Linked DNA regions of Homo sapiens: region 1 is linked to region 2. Evidence: promoter capture Hi-C in human tissues and cell types (Jung and others, 2019). All regions are on one chromosome and are shown on one strand. The core of a region is centred on a gene start or on the middle of the fragment in contact, and the rest is flanking DNA. Distances in the headings are between cores, read along the strand shown. Region 1 holds the start of CHRDL2 (chordin like 2). Region 2 has its middle 20 kb from the start of POLD3.

What was found. The method cuts DNA at HindIII sites, captures the fragments that hold promoters and counts their contacts. A contact is called where the count stands out against the background at its distance.
Region 1: a contact is called between the fragment with the promoter of CHRDL2 here and a fragment that was not itself captured in region 2, in 2 of the 25 tissues and cell types used here (IMR-90 fibroblasts and heart right ventricle).

The regions. Positions count from the first base shown.
Region 1 is chr11:74,729,670-74,733,396 of GRCh38, forward strand. It overlaps CHRDL2 (chordin like 2), which reads right to left and starts at 1,757. Exons shown (of 11, transcript NM_001278473.3): 1 at 1,138-1,757. The coding sequence starts at 1,219. The HindIII fragment of the contact is 7,141 bases long and covers 1-3,727 here.
Region 2 is chr11:74,571,023-74,575,001 of GRCh38, forward strand. No RefSeq gene overlaps it. Among named protein-coding and RNA genes, the nearest start is that of POLD3, 20 kb to the right of the region's middle. The HindIII fragment of the contact is 4,780 bases long and covers 1-3,953 here.

The DNA.
Region 1 (3,727 bases), core at 507-3,006, 160 kb after region 2:
GCTGGGGAGAGGAAAGAGCACCAGACTAGGAGTTGGGAACGCAGGGTCTTAATCCCAGGCTGTGCCATGTATGTCCTGGAGAAACCCACTGCTTGAATGAAGCTCCTTTCTTCTGATTAAGAGAATGTGGTTTGGTTTTCCATCCTCACAGCATTCTAAGAGATTGGCTGGGCATGGGGAGGGGGGACCACCAGCCTATTGTGGGCGCAGTGAGGAAACTGAGGCTCAGATTGATGATGTAACCTGTTTGATGTTACACTGTATCTATGTGGAAAAGCATAATTGGGAACTGATTTTTTTTGGAAGCTATCAAGCACCAGTCTTGTGCTAGCTGCTTTACCTCTTTTCTCTAATTTAATCCTATCAACTCTCCTAGGATTTTTACTTCCGCTTTATAGATTAGGAAACCCAGGGTCAGAGAGGTGCACTCTGTGACGGCCTCCCAGCAGCTGGCATTCAGCGGGGCTGGGATGGTGAAGACGCTGGTCTATCTCACTGTGCCCTGCCGCCTCCCAGAGTCTCACACTGCAAATTCAGGGTTCCTTCTAGACAATGTGAGGCAGGGAATAAAGCATGGGATCTGGAACTAGAGTTCTGGCTTTGGATGGCTTACCCGCTCTGTAAGTTTTAGCAAGTTCCTCCTTGCTCAGCCTAAGTTTTCTCATCTGTAAAGTGCGAATGATAATACCCACCTCACTGGAGAGTTGCGAGGATCAAAAGAGAGAAAAGAATGGGAAGGTTATCCTAATTACCTCTCATTTCTGTCCAATGGCTCTTTCCAAAGGCAAAAAGCCTTTTCTTCTCCATCACACTCCTTACCTGTAGCCAGACATACCCGACTCCCTCCTAGGAACAGTAAGTCCTCCCCCAACCCAAAACACAGTGCCCTGCCCTCTCCCCCCGCTGCCCTTGGTGCCCCTCCTCAGGTCCCTGGCAGCAGCCCTCTCTCAGTTCTGAGTTGTGCCGAGTTCCTCCGGTCCCCCGGCCCATACTGGTCCTCACGGAGTCTCCACCCCTCCGGCACAGGTGCTGCCTGGACGGCTGTCAGAAGAGCTTGGGGTCCAGGTCCTGGCGCTGTCCCTCACATTCCAGGGGCCGCATCCCTCCTCTGCCCACCCAGCCTCCCGGTCTACTTACGGGCTCGAGCGTGGGAGTCCAGGGGGAACCAGAGCAGCGCGAGTCCCAGCAAGGAGGAGAGGACCCTCACCTCGGGAACCATCCTTTCCCCAGGGTCAGGCCGCTGGTCCGGGAGCGGAGTCGGGAGGAAGGGAGACGAAAAGGACACGGAGGCACAGGGGCCACAGATCAACCCACAGACCCCAGGAGGTCTGCTGCTAGAGCGGGGTCGGAGAAGGGCCAGGAAGCAGCGGTGGGCAGGAAAGGAGGGCAGGAAGGGAGGTCTAAGGTGGGAAGAAGAGAAAGGTGGAAAGAGAACGCGGGGAAAGGAGGGAGAGATGGAGAGACGAAGGAAGGTCCAGCAGAAGGGAGAGGCGATCAAAGAAAGGGGGAAGGTGAGAGGGAGAGGAGGAGAAAGCAGGGAGAGGACCGGCGTCTGCCGAGCGCGCAGCGCCGGGCGAGGCGCGCGGGACCAGCGGGTGTTGCGGGCGCGCGGGCTAGAGGCGGCCGGCGCCCCCTGCTCGGTGGGCTCGGGGTCGGGCCGCGGGGGCCTGGGGCCCGGCGGGGCGGCGGTCCCAGCAGCGGCGGCGGCGCGGCGGCCGCGGAGGGAGGCTGAGCGCGGGCCGGCTGTGCTCGCCAAGGGCTTCAGGCGCCGCGCTCGGGCGCATTTGTACTTTGCCGCGGGAAGCAGGCAGCCCGGCCTGGCGCTGGCCTAGCGCTGGCGCCTCCTCTGGGGCACCGCGGGCTCGGTGGATTGGCCACCCGAGAAACAGGCCCACTTTTTCCCCTCCTCTCTTGTGCGGGTCTCCGGGACGGACGCTCCAGGCGCGGCGCCGAGTGGAGGCGAGGGGGCTGCGGAGGGGGAAGGGGCCACGCGGGCCACGGGGTTTAACCCCTGACTCCCCGCGACGCCAAGAATGCAGGAGGGCAGAGTTGAGGGAGACCTCAGGTGGAACTTTCAGGTGGGGAAGGCTGAGCTGTCGGGGCTGCGGGTACCGGGAAGGCTCAGGGTAAGGCGCTCGGCGGTGCGTGCCCGGAACTCCGCAGATGGATGGAATCAGAACACTGGCGTTCTTAATTCAGTTTGTGGTCTACAGCACGCCACCGGAGAGTCTGTTTTCCCAGCTTTAAAATGGGCATTTTAAGATCTTAAAATATCTCTACTATCTTCCCACGAGTGTTGCTAAGATGAAATAAGGTAATGAACGTCGAAACACTCACCCCACAAAGAGAAGGGGTCCTAATTCCAGGTGCCTACAATACCAGTGGCCCCTGTCCCCACTCCGTCTGCCCATGCGCCATTCTCAGGAAAGTCAGCCCATAGGGATCCTGTGCCTTCCCCTGGAGGTCTTCCTCTGCTCCCCGCTCCCACTCCCGAATCAAGGCAAGATCTCTCCTTTGCCTTTGCAGGTGAGGCCTGCACTTCTCTGGGAGTGATGGTCACCTTCAGTCATCTTTAGGGAGAGCTGATTGTCAAAGAGTTTTCTTTCCCACCAGAAGGGGAGCTCCCTGAGGACAGGGCCCTGACACCCTCCAGCCCTCAAATGGTGCTCCATCTCTTGTGTTGAATGAACACATGCACTAATAGGACACTAAGAAGAGAATAGCCAGCTCTGGCCAGACCAGAAACACACAAGCTCTGAAATCAAAAGGGCAGAGTCACTGTCCTGGCTCCATCCGTAACTTGTTGGGCCACTTTGAGTAAATACATCTATCCTTGCTTTGGACCTCAACTTTCTGCCCAGCTTCTCTTGAAGAGCTAATGGAGACTCCAAAGAGTGCCAGAGGAGTATGAGGTGGGAAGGGATGTTGAGCCATATCCCACTCTGGTAGGGAATCATATTTCCGGGTTTAAACACTTGGCTGGCTGGCTGTAAAGGTATCTTTCTGGGCCAAGGCTGGGCTCCCCATTGCACTGTGCTTTCAGGGTATTACCCCCAAGATCTCCACCCTCCAAAAGAGAGCAGTAGGAGGAACCAGTGATCCCCAAACTGGCCCTTCCTAGGGCTCTCAGGATCAGGGACAAACATGATCTGTCCAGTGCCCTTCAGGCTTAATTTCTACTCTAATCTGGCCAGTCTCTTCCTTTCCCCTGAGTATTCTTTATTTTAACAGATAGTGCAAGCTTATGCATGTCACCATGCTTCCCTTTTTGCCTTTGCTTCCAGGGATCTCAGAGTTAAATCCTGTGCTGCTTAATTGCATAAACAATCTCATCCCAAGGGTTTGGGACAGTGATCTTTTCCTTTCTCTTTGTTTAAAATGTGCTGTGCACATATATTCATGTCTTAGATGTAAGAAGTGGATTAAGATGGGTTCCCCTACATCCTGCCCATCATACTTCAAAAAAGGCCTCCACCATCTCAGCCCTCCTGTCCATCCCTATTATCCCCAGAGTTGAGGCCAACTTCATTCCTTTTTTTTTTTTTTTTGAGATGGAGTTTTGCGCTTGTCGCCCAGGCTGGAGTGCAGTGGCGTGATCTGGGCTCACTGCAACCTCTGCCTCTGGGTTCAAGCGATTCTTCTGCCTCAGCCTCCCGAGTAGCTGGGATTACAGGCATGCACCACCTATAATTTTTGTATTTTTAGTAGAGATGGGGTTTCGCCATGT
Region 2 (3,979 bases), core at 314-2,813:
CATTGCACAGCTCCAGGAACAGGGGCAAGGGCTGAGGTAAAAAAAAAAAAAAAAGAGAGAGAAATGAGTGGATTTGAGAAACAGTACAAGAAAATCCGACTTGATAAGACATTGGATTCAGAGAATGAAGGGCTGGAACTGCCAGTGCCTGCCAGTGAGTTGTACTTTGTGCTACCAACTAATCTTCGTAGAACTTCAGTTTGATTATTCATTACCTCCAGCCTATTTTGGCTTCCTACTGAAATCAGGACACAAGGAAATTTGTCACCAGGTAGACAATAAATGTCCCTCCCCACCCCCTGCCAGTCACCCCACTAGTCTTATTAGGAATCCTACACTTGGTAGGAATTAAGAAGTCTTGACTGTGAGTCCCAAGTTCAGTCATTTTCTGGCTGACTGACCTTGGGGAAAGTGACCAAACACCTGGGAGTTTAGTTTTCTCATCTTCAGTTTACTCATCTGAACAATGGAGCAATGGCAACAACAGCTCCCTTTAGGCTGAGCCAAGCTTCATACAAGCTAATGTCAGACATCTATCATCTTATTGAATTCTTGCAACCCCAGGAAATGGGCACTACCATTACCCCCATTATTCAAATGAGGACACTGAAGCTCTGAGAAATTGAGTGGCTTGCCCAAGGCCATATAGCTAGAAAGTGGGAGAAGCTGTCTTTCCAACTCAGACTGCTTAGCTCCAAAGCTTTACTGCTCTGGATCTCTGTCTCAGTGAGCTTTTGCTATAAAATGACCCACCCTGAAACACAGTGGCTTAAAACAACAATCATTTTGTTTAGTTCACAGTTCTAAGGTACAGTATATTTATACAGGTCACAGTTTTGATCTTGGCCAATTTAGCTGATCTATGCTGGATTCCCACATGCATGGGTCTGTGGATAGCTGGTAAGTTGGCTCAATCACATATTTGGTGACTGGCAGTTGGCTGGAGCACCCTGATGCTCCTCCATATAGCCTCTCATCTTCCAGCAGGCTAGCTTAGGCTCATTGACTTGGCGGGCTAAAGATTCCAAGTTTAACAAGAGAAGACAGGCCAGATGCAGTGGCTCACACCTGTAATCCCAGCACTTTGGGAGGCTGAGGTGGGAGGATCATGAGATCAGGAGTTCAAGACCAGCCTGGCCAATATGATGAAACCCCGTCTCTACTAAAAATACAAAAATTAGCTGGGTGTGGTGGTGCATGCCTGTAATCCCAGCTACTCAGGAGACTGAGACAGAAGAATCGCATGAACCCGGGAGGCAGAGGTTGCAGTGAGCTGAGATCACGCCACTGCACTCCAGCCTAGGTGACAAAGCGAGACTCCATCTCAAAAAAAAAAAAGAGAGAGCAGACAAGCCTCCGTGCTCAAGCATGTTTCAAGTCATCGCAAAGCCAAACCAGACTCAGAGTGCAAAAGCACTTTCAAAAGGTGTGGGTAGAGGGAAGGGGATAATCTGTGGTCATTTTTACAATCTGCCATAAATGCTATGCTATAATCCCTGTTTCACAGGGTTGATCACATGAGATAAAGAATGTGAATCAGCTTTGACGTGAATCAGCTTTGTGAACTTCTATAAAATATTGTCCAGAGGAGTGGCATTGTTTAATGATTAGTACTGTATGCCAATAGTACCTCGAACTCAACACATCTGGTAATTATCTCCATTTTCCAGATGAGGAAACTGAAGCCTAGAGAGCTTAGGGGGCTTGCACATGATCATACAGCCAGAATCTGAACAGAGATCTGTGTGTGCAGTGCTCTTCAGCAACTTGATTCTTTATTGCATTGTTCTATAATCCGTTTTCCTGAGCAGGTCTTGTTTTCCCAACTAAAATTCCTTAAGGACTTTTTTTTTTTTTTTTTTTTGAGATGGACTCTCACTCTGTTGCCTAGGCTGGAGTGCAGTGGCGCGATCTTGGCTCACTGCAACCTCCATCTCCCGGGTTCAAGCAATTTTTCTACCTCAGCCGCCCGAGTAGCTGGGACTATAGGCACGTGCCACCAACGCCTGGCTAATTTTTGTGTTTTTAGTAGAGACAGGGTTTTGCCATATTGGCCAGGCTAGTCTTAAACTCCTGACCTCATGATCCGCCTGCCTTGGCCTCCCAAAGTGCTGGGATTACAGGTGTGAGCCACTGCACCCGGCCCTTAAGGACGTATTATAGGTCTTTTATTTCTTTTGTGGCCACGGTGGTGGCTAGCATTATACTAAACACATGGTAGGCACTCACTAAAGACTTTTCAAATGACTGAATCACTCATTCATTTATTTATTCCCTTTTTAAGCAAACATTTATTGAACACCAATTATTACATAGGTCCTGGACACTGAGAATACAGAAATAAATAACACAATATTCCTTTTCTTAAGAAACTCGCCTAGTTAAAAAAAAAAAATTCAACCTGACACTGTAATCTAGCATGATAGAACCTCAAAGGGTTATGACAGCAAAGGAAAGGAGCCCTAAACTAGCCTGGCAGAGAAGATACCTGCCTTCTTTATGGCTGAGGACACTGAGGAGGATACTTCTGAAGAGAGCACAGCAGATGCAAAGACTTGTGGGAAATAACACGGTATGTACCTGGACTTATCAGCAGTCTGTGTTGCTGGAGCATAGGTAAGAAGCAGCTAGGGGTGAGAGGTGAAGTTGAGGTGGTAAGAAGCTCAAACTTGATCTCTTTTTTTGGGACAGGGTCTTGCTCTGTCACCTAGGCTGGAGTACAGTGGCGTGGTCACAGCTTACTGAAGCCTCAAATTCCTGGGTTTAAGTGAACCTCCCACCTCAGCCTCCCCTGTAGCTGGGACCACAGGCACACGCTACTATGCCTGACTCATTTCTTTATTTTTTGTAGAGATGGGGTATGACTATGTTGCCCAGGCTGGTCTAAAATTCCTGGGCTCAAGTGATCCTGCCACTTCAGTCTCTCAAAGTGTTGGTATTACAGGTATTAGCCACAGCACCCGGCCTCAAACTTGATCTTAAAAGCACTGAGAGGGTCAGGCGCGGTGGCTCACGCCTGTAATTCCAACACTTTGGGAGGCTGAGGCGGGAGGATCACAAGATCAGGAGTTTGAGACCAGCCTGGCCAATATGGTGAAAACCGGTCTCTAATAAAAACATACAAAAAAAAAATTAGCCAGGGGTGGTGGCGGGCACCTGTAGTCCCAGCTACCCAGGTGGCTGAGGTAGAAGAATCGCTTGAACCCAGGAAGCAGAGGTTGAATGAGCCGAGATTGCACCACTCCACTCCAGCCTGAGTGACAGAGTGAGACTCCGTCTCAAAACAAACAAACAAACAAACAAAAAAAAGGCCGGGCACTGTGGCTCACGCCTGTAATCCCAGCACTTTGGGAGGCCGAGGCAGGTGGATCACGAGGTCAAGAGATTGAGACCATCCTGGCCAAACAACATGGTGAAACCCCATCTCTACTAAAAATACAAAAATTAGCTGGGTGTAGTGGTGCACACCTGTAGTCCCAGCTACTCGGGAGGCTGAGTCAGGAGAATCGCTTGAACCTGGGAGGCAGAGGTTGCAGTGAGCCGAGATTGCTCCACTGACTCCAGCCCAAGCGACAGAGTGAGACTCCATCTCAAACAATAAAATGAAATAAAATAAAGCACTGAGATGCACCACTAGGTAATAAAAACACATTCAGACCAAGACTCGTATGCAAATTTTTTAGTACCAAAACTGGAACTTATCCAACACCCATCATCTGGTCAGTAAATGAATAAAATATGGTACACTCATACAATAAAATACTACTCAGCAATAAAAAGTAATCAACTACTGATATTTGCACTAACATGAAAGACGATACATTTGTTTGCTTGGACTGCCATAACAAAGTACCACAGACTAGGTGACTTAATACAAATTTTGGCCAGGTGTGGTGGCTCACGTCTGTAATCCCAGCACTTTTGGAGGCTGAGGCGGGCAGATCACTTGAGGTCAGGAGTTTGAGAGCAGGCTGGCCAA